Regions from separate parts of the Homo sapiens genome. Here region 2 is linked to region 1. The links are contacts of gene promoters, found by promoter capture Hi-C in human tissues and cell types (Jung and others, 2019). All regions are on one chromosome and are shown on one strand. The core of a region is centred on a gene start or on the middle of the fragment in contact, and the rest is flanking DNA. Distances in the headings are between cores, read along the strand shown. Region 1 holds the start of RNF13 (ring finger protein 13). Region 2 has its middle 28 kb from the start of CP.

The links. Contacts are between HindIII fragments. The study calls those that stand out against the background at their distance.
Region 2: a fragment that was not itself captured here is called in contact with the fragment with the promoter of RNF13 in region 1 in 1 of the 25 tissues and cell types used here (hippocampus).

The regions. Positions count from the first base shown.
Region 1 is chr3:149,810,069-149,816,088 of GRCh38, forward strand. RNF13 (ring finger protein 13) reads left to right here and starts at 3,147. Exons shown (of 10, transcript NM_183381.3): 1 at 3,147-3,285. RefSeq lists enhancers at 2,504-3,015, 2,881-2,990 and a silencer at 2,521-2,670. The HindIII fragment of the contact is 17,546 bases long and covers 1-6,020 here.
Region 2 is chr3:149,247,305-149,253,324 of GRCh38, forward strand. It overlaps the pseudogene CPHL1P. Among named protein-coding and RNA genes, the nearest start is that of CP, 28 kb to the left of the region's middle. The HindIII fragment of the contact is 3,740 bases long and covers 1,040-4,779 here.

The DNA of each region.
Region 1 (6,020 bases), core at 1,897-4,396:
TCCTTGAAAATAAATTGGATAAACTTTGTTGAAAAACCCTCTGACTGATATGTATCGCCTTAGGTTCTGAACTTTTCACTTTTTATCTTACTTAATGAACCCATTCATTAATTTGGAACTTGGCAAAGAAATTAGAATCTTTTAGAATCTTTGGCTAAAAGTTCCCTGATGCTATTTGTAGAAATTCTGTTTGGTACTTTTCAAAATTGCTTATTTCATACACATATAAATTCTTTATGGATCTTATTCTTTCTTTTAATAGTAATAATTTTATTTTGTTTTCAAAATGAAAATACCTTTTTTCTGATTCTAAAATTACTTTTTTTCTGTTTCTAAATATGATAATATATAGAATTGTTTAAGGTTTCTGATTAATCTCTGTGCTTAAGGAGACAGCCTGCATTCTTTCTGGTATTTAGGGAGAACTATTTCTAAGCCATTTCAGACAATTACATAATTGGGTATCTGTCTTTTTTTGTTGTTGTTGCCTTACAATATTTTGGAAGCAGGAGATTCTACAATTACTTTTACGTGCTATCTGTTTGTACTTTTTAGGAAGGTTTAAAAAAAAAACCTGTTAGATACAACACCCTAAAAGCACATTTTGATTTTTAAAAAGATAATTAGTGGTATATTAGTATCACGTGCCTTATTAACCCTTCATGTTCTTGAAAATTGTAATTATGATATCTGTCAATCTTACTGTCTAATCTGCTTTAGAAAGATTAATACATTTTTCCAATATATTTTTTTCCAATTTACCTTTTTCAGCACAGGTTGGGAGAGTAAATGTTTTTGCAGAGTGTAGCCTAAATGCAGTACAAATGACACATTACCTTGTTCATAGTTGAGAGAACTATACCTATTGTTATCTGAAGAGCAGGTTGAAACCAGAAGTAAAATATTCTGTACTCAAGGTGCCTTTAAGGAATAAGCAAAGCTCTTTGTCTGAGCGTGGTGACTCATGCCTGTAATCCTAGCACTTTGGGAGACCGAGGCAAGAAGATCCTTTGAGGCCAGGAGTTTGAGACCTGCCTGGGCAACATAGCCAGACTGTAAGGCTAAAAAAAATAAAAAAATTAGCCAGGCCTGGTGGCACATGCCTGTAATCCTAGCTACTCCAGAGGTTGAGGTGGGAGGATTACTTGAGCCCAGGAGTTCTGGACTGCAGTGAGACATGATCTCACCACTGCACTCCAGCCTGGGCAACAGAGTGAGACCTTGTCTCTAAAATAAATAAAAATAAAACAACAAAACCCAAAGCTCCTCTCTGTGGACTTAATTTTTTTTTTTTTTTTTGGAGATGGAATCTTGCTCTGTTGCCTATGCCCGAGTGCAGTGGTGGGATCTCAGCTCACTGTAACCTCTGCCTCCCATGTTCAAGCGATTCTCCTGCCTCAGCTTCCCAAGTAGCTGGGATTACAGGTGTGCACCACAATGCCCGGCTAATTTTGTATTTTTAGTAGAGACGAGGTTTCACCATGTTGGCCAGTGTGGTCTTGAACTCCTGACCTCAAGTGATCCGCCTGACTTGGCCTCCCAAAGTGCTGGGATTACAGGCATGAGCCACCGCACCCGGCCTAAAAAAATTTATTTTGATGTTATGCAAGAAATCTGATTTAATATACCAATTTGGGATAATTTAATGAAAAAAATGCTTATAGAGATATTATAAATGTGTTTATACTAATTAGTCTTCTTAGTAATATTCCCAATGCTGACTTTTATTTATGACTTTCTTAAAGGCAGAATTGTGATTTAAGTATTGAATGTCTTTGCAACCAATGAAAAGTTAAGACTACATAGAATACTCATAGGATACACAGAAGAGGAAAGTACCTTTGATAGCTTTTATTTAATTTTTTAAAATTTGATCTTAAATTTCTTGTATTTGAATTTTATTTGAGTAGGTAATATTTGCAAGGTTCAAAATTCAAAAGGCACAAAAGGATACACAATAAGGAAAGAGTCTTTTCCCCATTGCTGTGTCCCACCTACTCAGGGCTCTCCAAGCAATCAAAGTGACAAGTTACATCCAATGGTATTCTACTAATACTCTGTGTGATAGCCTCCTCGCCACCATTTTTAAAAGATGATGTTGAAGGAGTTGAAGCCTGTAAAGGCCTTATTAAGGGTGCCTTATTATTTGAAGCAGAAGTAGTGCCTGATTCTATGTCTCCTGACATTTCTTTCAGGACTCTGTAATATTTGCCTAAGTCACACTGCTTTTGTAAGGTGGCGAGTTGGCAATGATTAATCAATGTGGATGGTACAATCCGGTAATTTAAGTTTCGACTGGTTTAAGATTGAGACAACCAGAAAGGAAGGCTTATCAGAAGGGCGGCAGGGGAGGAGATTTTTGGTTCATCAAAAGGAGGCAAGGGTTTTAAAAGGCTGACCTAGGGCCTGAATCACATGGTTTGACTTTTGCTAAGCCCCGGGGATGGCGCGTGTCAGGCCCAGAGTGCTGATGCCAGCGTGGATCCGAGCCAGGCCTCAGGGGACTGGCGTTCAGACCTCGGGCCGCTCGCATCTCTAACAATTTGAGCCCTACTTTAAGGTGTGGCCACGGTCCCCACCCACTCTGATCTCAGACTGGGCACGGTACGGAAGGCGGGCGGATGAGGCCTCGCCCTCGCCTCTTTAGTAGGTCGGGTGAGTGTAGTGTGCAGGGAAGAGACGCGTCAGCGCCAGGGCCAGGCCCGCCCGGGGGCAGCCCGGCAGCCGAATCTTGGGCTACTCTGTCCCAACAGCCGGAGCAGATCAGACCGACCGGCCCTGCCCGCTCGGTCCCGCGCCCTCCAGACCCTACGGTCTCCGTTTCTAGGGGCACATGGTTAGCGGCAGGCGCCCACAGCCAATCCACTTTGCCAGCCTGCCCCTTCCTCTGCCAAGAGCAGCTTCTTCAGCCGCGCTCCAGTTCCGCAGACGCCTGCCCCACCCTGCTCTTCCCTTCCAGGGAAGACGGATCACGCGGCCAAGAACGAGACTCGCAAACTGGGCATTTCTCCGAGCCGGGCTAGAGCAAGTAGCGAGACTCCGCGTGAGAGTGGGAAAGAGCCTTAACAGGCAACCATGTTGCCCAGTGGGTTTTCTGTGCCTTTGGGTGCGGACCAATGAGGCGCGTGGGGCGGGACTTCCGCTTCGCCTAGGTGTTGTCGTCCCTGCTAGTACTCCGGGCTGTGGGGGTCGGTGCGGATATTCAGTCATGAAATCAGGGTAGGGACTTCTCCCGCAGCGACGCGGCTGGCAAGACTGTTTGTGTTGCGGGGGCCGGACTTCAAGGTAAGACCCTGTCCGGCTTCGCGGCAGCCGGGCAGCTCGTTATCGAGCGGCCCAGAGAACATACCCCGCTTGTTGGCCCTCGAGCTCGGAGTCGGCCCTGCTGCTGAGGTCTTTGCTGCTCCTCTAGAGCTGGGTGAGAAGTCAATTAGGCTTTTTGCAAAAGGAATAAAATAGCCTTGCCCTCGGGGGACCGAGTCTCCCCTGCACTCTCATTCCGCGAGTTTGTGTGTGTCCAAAGTTGAGTTACCGGTTTTGCTTCTCTCATTCCCTTCTTGAGGCTGCAAGAGCCTGCCTGGAAAACATGTTTGGAAGGCTTTTCTTGGTCAAGTACCTGCCGCAACGTCCTCGGGCACATCGCTTGACTTTAGTTGAGGGGGCTGTTTTGTCTCTGAATAGAAGGAGGGCAGTCACTTCCTCTCTTTTACCCCCACCCCCTTTTTCTTTCCCTGGAAGCTCAGATTGCAGGTTTGGGACTTAACCCCTGCTAGGGCCAGATACTACGGTCAGTCAGCAGCTCTGCCTGTATGCTTGACTTGACTTGACTTGCACTTATTAAATAACTTTGTCCCAGAGAGAAAGAGAGAGTGGGCAGACATCGAAGCCAAACAGCAGTATCCCGGAAGCACTCATGCAACTTTGGTGGCGGCCACTCAGTTTTCTCTGCCAGTGTCTGGTAAATTCCTCTATTTTGTCCTAATCTGACAATAGTAAATAGTAAATTTCCAAAACTGTCGTTTCATCATCAGTTTCAGCACCGTGGGCAGCTGCTCGGGTCCTCTCTTGTTGCCCCAAACCTGCCCGGCTATTACTGTTCGTCAGTGATGCAGCAGAAACAGTGAAAACTGATGCATTCCTTTCAACAATGATGTGTTTGTTCTCCAAGGAGAACATCTGCAGTTTTTGATACAATATAAATAAGTAAGGTGGCTGTGCCTCCAAAGAGTTCTTCTGGAGAAACAGATCAATTCAAGATTTAAGGTAGGGCTTTCAAGAGTTTATGCTATTTAAGCACAGTTTTTTAATGGGTGGACATTAGCTCCATCTCGAAGTAACAAAACTGGACAGTGATAGCAATTAAAAAGAACTTTAAACAGGAGGTAAGAAGTGTAGTGCAGTGCTGTAGTGCAGGAAGTGTAGTGCAGTGCTGTAGTGCAGGGCCCATAAGGATTCATTAATAGATTTTAGAATCAATTTAGTACATTGACATAAGCTTTATAAAGAAAGAAAAAATACCAGAGGACATTGTATGGAATAAAAGTAAATATTATGGCAAGAAGCTTTTGTTTCAGTTTTTAACAGTATGTGTGTGTCAAGAGGAAGATGGAAATGTAAAGTGTATTATGGATTATGGCAAAAACAAATGTTTCAAAATACTAAATTCCAAATTTGGGAGTCAAGCTGGGTTCAGCTCTGCCATTTACTAATTCTGTGACATTTTCCGTAAATAAGAAATGAGTTGTTATGAGGATTAAATGAAACAAAATTTGTCTATTACATAATTTTTTTTTGTTTTGTTGGAAACTGTTGGAGAGAGGCACAGTTATTTTTCTCTATGTAGGGAATGAGAACTGTTTTATTAGTTTTTTTTTTTTTAACCTCTGCCTTTGTTTGAAGCTAGGCAGCTTGACATCTTGTCTCTATGTGTAATGCAAATCATAGACAGAATCTTGGTTTGAGAGGTATAATACTGAAGGGTTTGGGATAAGTTCTCATCTATGCTTGTATAAAGCTAATTTTCTCAATAATTTTGGAGGGGCATAAATTGTTGCTAGCATTCAGCTTTCTTCCCTTGATATTTTTCTGCATTCCAGAATAACGTAGATTTATCAGAACTTTTACAGGCACTAACTTTAGCTAAGTGAGGGTAGGCCTGAGGGTATGACTAAAGGGATAGATTTATGTCTTTGAGTTAAGTTGGCTAGGAAGGCATTTTATGCCTTATAGTTCTTGCCATAAGAGATGTATGAAATGAAATAGTTTGGTCAACTATCATGGTATGTTTTGCTTACTTCATGTAGGTGTGACCTAGAAATGGTTGGCATTTAAATAACAATATTTTTAAATCTGGGAATTGATGTTTAGCAGGAGGCAAATGAGTTTCAGTCAAAACAGTGTTTTGCACCATTTGTCATGTTTACCATATGGCATTGCATATGATAGTTTCACATGACATAAAAAGGGGAAGAAAGTTGGTAAGCATTGTTACTTTTCCCAAAAGAGGAAACAAAATTAGAAGCGAATTCCTTTTAATAAAGCATACTGGTGAGTCATTGTTCAAAAATGTATGTATTCTATAGATATTTATTGAGCATATATAAAAGTAAAATATTAAACTTTTATGAATCTTTTACATTACACAAAAGTTGATTTGGGAACAACACAGCATATGATTGGTATTGTCAAAGTTTATATAGCATAGTATATCAACAACAACAAAACAGTAATGTAGCTAATATTGATTGGTTAATATGAGCCAAATACAATTCTAAGTGCTTTATAATATCTCAGGTGGTTCTTACAGTCATTGATGTGGTAGATAGTAAGTTGTTTCCTTTTTATTTTTTTTTGGGACAGGGTCTTGCTCTGTTGCCCAGGCTGGAGCAATTATGGCTCACTGCACCCTCGACCTCCCGTGCTCAAGGGATCCTCCTATCTTAGCCCGACAAGTAGCTGGGACTACAGTCATAAACCCCCATGCCTGGCTAATTAAATTTTTTTTTTTTTTTTGTAGAGAC
Region 2 (6,020 bases), core at 1,660-4,159, 560 kb before region 1:
GAACATTAGCCTCGTAGTCCTGCATAAAAGCTTTGGGGATTATTTTTCTCCCAAAGTAGTTACCTGGCTGAGTTGGAACAACAGTGGAATTATTTGTTTTCACTCCATGAGCATGAATAGAATACGGTCTTGCGGCTTTATTTTTAAAGATAATTTGAATTATTTGACCAGGGTTGAGCAATATTAATGGACCTAGGGAATATAAAAAGAAATATGTCTGAGTAATTGTTATTTATTTTAAATTATGAGTCATCTCTCTTCTTATTTACACAGTGACTTATTCTTATCCTTTTACTTAACATGCAGCCAAATGAAATAAAAACATTTAACAAGTAGATCATTGCTGATTTATGAAACATGATTTTTGCCTGAAATTTTTAAATCATTTAGAATTTTATGAGTTTTTTTTTTTTTTTTTTTGCCAGAAAACTTATTTTAATGAACAACGGTTTATGCCTAGGAAAACATACAATTTAAAAATGAAACCCTTTCTTTTCTTTCTTGACCAATCTCAACTTTCAAGCCTTTTATTCCCTTGCTCCTTATTCTACTGGAGGATTGCAAGGAGCTGCAAGGCCTGTTTATTGACCCAAAGTGATTTTCTCTCTTACAGACTAAAAACCTTCATTTTACTCTCTCTCCCTTTCATCCTAAGCCAGAAACTACAGGTATAAAATTCATTTTAAATCTTCTTTCTATTTGGAAGCAGGTTGAATTAGTGGCTCTGAAAAATTCTGAAACACAGGTGGTTTTGAGATGAGATAAGCAGCAAGAACTTTCTGCAAACTTGTGCTACAATTACTAAAATTAGAGCCCTGAAGATGCCTGCTGGAGGCTAAATGCTAGCTAAAGACAGGGCCTCTTTGCTCCCTGTGACCATTTCACCTCCCCAAACAATATGCATGGTTTTTCTTTTTAATAAAGTGTTTTCCTTTTTGCGTAAATAATAATAGAACCTTGAGGGTCAGATTGCGTTATTTATCTTCATGCATTCAGCCACAATCCTAGAGAAAACAAACATCCTGTGGTTACTAAAGATAGGGGCCCACTCAAAAGCAGCAGCAACAGGATAGCACAGGCTTCCCTCCAGGGCTCACAAAGAGACAAGCTCTAGAGGCTGACGGAGAGCAAAAAAGAGCAAAAATTCCTCTTCATCAGCATGTAAATCCATCTCCTCAGGATCCCACATCATAAAATAACCTCTAATATACACATAGATATTAAGACTGAAACAGGAGTTGGGCGTGTGGAAATGTCGCATGTGGGCACCTGGGATGACTCAGAGGTTTCCTACTTGATCTATCAAGGGTGGAAGAAAGAGTTGTACTTTTCCTCACTCAGACAGAAGACACTTAAATTTACATAAAGAAGTTCCTTTCCTCACTATACTAGGGTCCCCTGGGCTTTGTTTTAATTGTATTGAAATGATCCCTGCACGCTACTTCTAAACTCCTTTCTAGAATTTTTTAATTCTGAGAGCAAGAATCCAGGTAATCTGAAACTGAGCACATTACTTTTCTACATTCTCCTTATTTTTTAGGAAACAACACTTGAATCATTTTTTCCCCCAATGAAAATGCCTATCAGCAAACAAACCAGAATTACAGGTACTTTCCTCTGTTGAAGTAGAGGTTGACAATGGCCTCCATGTGTACAACAATCTCTAATGGCTGAGGACAAGAAAAACTCGAAAACCAATCTTATGGCATACCAATACCTAGTATATCGAGATGTTTTTCACCTTCATTCCTTTTTGTTTGATTTGTGAACGTGTTATCATCATATTGACGATATAAGACTTTCTTGTATTTGGACCCAAGAAGTGTTCCACTTCTGTCCACATACATGCTCGTTTGGCTTTAAGAAAATAAAAACAAAAACAAAAAAACCCCACAAAGTTAGTTAATTTAACCATTAATTTAGACAAAGAACTCATATGGAAGAACTTCTTATATCTAGAAGCTGTTTTACCTAAAAATGTAAGTCATCTTTTTAAAAATATATATTAATTCTAGCAAGATAGGTAGATATTCATTCTACATTTCAAAGCTTATTTTCAGGATAAAATTTAGTTTTTATAAATAAATATACAGTAAGAGAGAAAACCAGAGAGAGAAATCAAATTGTACAAAAAGAGAAAAACAGGTGTCTTTAATTTGAAGTTCTCAGAAGAATAGAGGTAGAAGAAAATGAAGACAAAAGAAACACCTGACTGTAGATACTGAATGTAGCTGAAGTTATGTCACTATTCCTGTGGTGAGATCAGACAGTAACATATGTCCAGGAAGGATGCAAGAAGTGAAAACTCAGGCAGGAAGAAATAAAGCCCATAAGTAAGTTATATAGATATTTAGAAAGATTTGAAGCCCTTTGCAATTGAATATGTCACACACACACACACACACAAATTTTGAAGTGATTTATAATGGAGAATATCCTAAACACACAAATACCACATCCACATATCCATTATGCACACGTACACCATAACAAACACAAATAAATATACCACACACACCCACCATACCAAACACAAATAAATACAACACACACACAGACACAGACACACACAGAGAGACTGAAAGGAAAGAGAGGAAGACTCAGAAAGAACCCTTAGAACCCTTCCCATTTAGAGACTGGAGCTATCATGGTACTTCTCTCTTCGTAAGTGGTGGAGTTCATTCTCCCACTTTCTACTAGGAGAATAATCCCATTCCATTTCCTCGGCTGCAATGGTAATAATTATTTTCTCCTCCTGGTATTGTGTTTGATCAGGGTTTGGCTTCCCACATTGCCTCACGTGATATTTATGTTTCATGCCTCCTAGATTGTGCTTTATTGTCATGCAAACCAAATCAAAAGTTCCTACAGACGAATAAGAAAGGAATGGTTAAAGCCTTGCCTTCAGATTTCTTTCCTCTGTAAAATTATTAATAAGCTGCAACCCTCAAAAGAAATATAGTAAAATCATTTGTTCATTCTTTCATTAATTCAACAAATATTTATTGATGACCTTCTTTGTGTCAGACATATTTCTAGGCATTCGGGAAACATCAGAGAACAAAATAGTTAAAAATTCTTGCTCTCAGAGTTCATATTGCAAGGTGTTGTGGAGACAAACAATAAACATGTTAAGCAACTTGTATGTATGCTGGAAGGTGATAAGAGCTATGATTAAAGAAAAAAAGTAAAACAGTGTAAGGAGGACTGAGGATTCTGGGTGTGTGTTGGGAAGGGCTCAAGAGAGCAGTGAGCAATATCATAGGGTAAGCAGGGTAGGCCTCGATGAGAGGGTGATACCTGGGCAAAAATTTATAAGAGATGATATGGGTCTGGAGGAAAAGTGTGTTCTCTCTAGGCAGAATAAACAGGTGGCAAAGGCCCCAGGCCAGGAGCCTGTTTGGTGTGTGTGAAGAGCACCCAAGAGGCCTGTGTGTCTGGAGGGAGGGAGCAAGGGTGAAAGTACTAGGGAGCAGAGGGCTAGGTGATGGAGCCCTTGTGGGCCACTGAATACATGATAGCATTCACTAAGTGAAATGGAGAGCCACTGTGGGATTTTAAGTCAATGAAGGGTATAAGGACACTCTAGCAGCTGTGCTGAGAATAGGCTGGCGTGTACAATGGTGAAAGAAACGGGATCTGTTGAGAGGCTATTAAAAATAATCGATGAGAGATGATGGCTTTGATCAGAGTGGTAGGTAGCAGAGGAGGGAGTGAAAAAAAGTTCAATACATTAAAAATACATTAAAAATCCAAAACAATGACAAAAACAAAAACAAACCACCATAACAAAAAAACTCTAGCCTGATTCTGACCAGAACATTCCACCTGAATTCCAGTTTTCTTTCTTTTACCTTGGTAATTTTAGGCCCACCACGTGCTGACACTGCTTCTTGACGAAAGCTCTCTTTCAACTCTACGTATTTCTGTTGTTGCTGTGACTTTTGTGGAGGGTAAGGTTTAGGAAGATGTACAAGGAAGCAAAACCTTCAGACTCAGAGGGTTTGAGAAAAAGAATTTGTTGAAAATGACATAATCCCTGTATAAGCTCTAGCACCGTGTTTAACACATAGTGTACCTGTCTCCACTTGTTTGCTACAGTTGATATGCTTTGGAAAAGAGAATGAGACAAGGTAGTTTTTAAATCCAGAAAAACACCTGCAGGGGAAAGGAGAGGAAGGACTGGGGCAGGAAAAAGAAATAACTTGTCCCTGAATGAGCATGCAGGTACATCCTCTAAAAAAGAGGAGGAAAAAAAAAAGCACCAGAGAAAGATCTCTCTCTCTTTTTTTTTTTTTTTTTTTTTTTTTGTGTGTGAGACCGAGTCTTGCTCTGTCGCCCAGGCTGGAGTGCAGTGGCACGATCTCGGCTCACTGCAAGCTCCGCCTCCTGAGTTCATGCCATTCTCCAGCCTCAGCCTCCCGACTAGCTGGGACTACAGGCGCCTGCCACCATGCCCAGCTAATTTTTTTGTATTTTTAGTAGACACAAGGTTTCACCATGTTAGCCAGGATGGTCTCAATCTCCTGACTTCATGATCCGCCCGTCTCAGCCTCCCAAAGTGCTGGGATTACAGGTGTGAGCCACCGCGCTGGGCCAAAGATCGCTTTCTTTTCCCCTCCAATTACTCTGAATCACAACTTTTGTTTGTTTGAAAAGTAAAATTTTAAATTTTGAAATGAAGAAAATGTAGTCAAATGAATATTTGGCATCACAAAGAGTCAAGATACCAATTCATAGTATTTACAGAGTAGTTTGTTTATCATATAGCCAGATTTTGGTTGATATCAGTCATTTTTGACCAAGATAGATGTATTTTGGGGCGGGGGGGCAGGTATATGGGACAAGGGTGGATCTACTGGATTAAAGAAGGAACTAGCATTTATTGAAAGTCTAACATATGCCAGGCAGTTTACTATACTTTACCTATCTCATTGATCACTGTCTATTCCTTTTTGCAAATTACAAGTTTTTACAATTCCTATTTTACAAATGAGGAAACGAGGTTCAGAAGGAAGGCTGGTTTCCTTTGATCCCCACACAGTTCTTTGATATGGGGTGCCTTCTTTAAAAAAAAAAAATGTTGCCAGCAAGGATCAACCTCACTGAAGCTAAAACATTTATCCAGAGAGCAAAGCTAGTAAGGAGGATAGAAAGAGGAAGTCACAAGGCAGTAGGGTAAGGTCGAAGCAGCAGGAAGGCCTGGGAAACAAATGGACAGAAGAGTAAGAAATGCAGAAGACAACAGAATGAAAATGAGTTTAAAGGGTTTAAAACATCTTCATCATTTTTGAAGAGCATTGGGATGGTTTAAAGCCTGAAGGACTAGGAAGAGGACCTGAAAAAACTGAGGTGATTTATGTGTATAGGAAAATGAAATACTAAGGCTCTTATAAATGAAGTGGAGCAGGGCAAAGATTTCTCAAGCATTGTTTGTATCAGTTCAATTTTTTTTTCCTGTACAGAATATTCAGTGCGTATAAAGATAGTGCTTCTGCATACTTTAATGTTTCAGGCTGAATGAGAAGACCCACTGCTCACCTATAGAATCAGGTGTCATCAAAAGCGTCTGAGAAGTATAAGGAAACATAGGTATTGTGTCCCTTCTTGCTCCTAAAGAAGTGAAGGTATTTCCTGAAAAATATATCCCGTGTAAATCTTCCACTGATCCTACACTAAAAACGTGCCACAAAACGTTGTCTCCTAAGCACGTGTCCAATCCAGGCAGATTTCCATACATGTATCCATTTATGGCTGCAAGGTATTTGTAACAAAGGAAAGAGTATTTAATTCACTGGTACTTGATATCTTTTGAAACCCAACAAAGCATTAATCATGAAGCAGCTCATTCACGTAAAAAAAAGCAATTTTTTCAACTTTCCTTTCCTCTATTGTTATTTAATCACTTCATGGGGGCTAAAAATGACATTATAGAATTAGAGAATGACAGAATTCCATGATACCCTCATTGGGTTATTCCAGTCAAGCTCTTCCTTTTAGAGTTGAGGAAACTAAGGCCA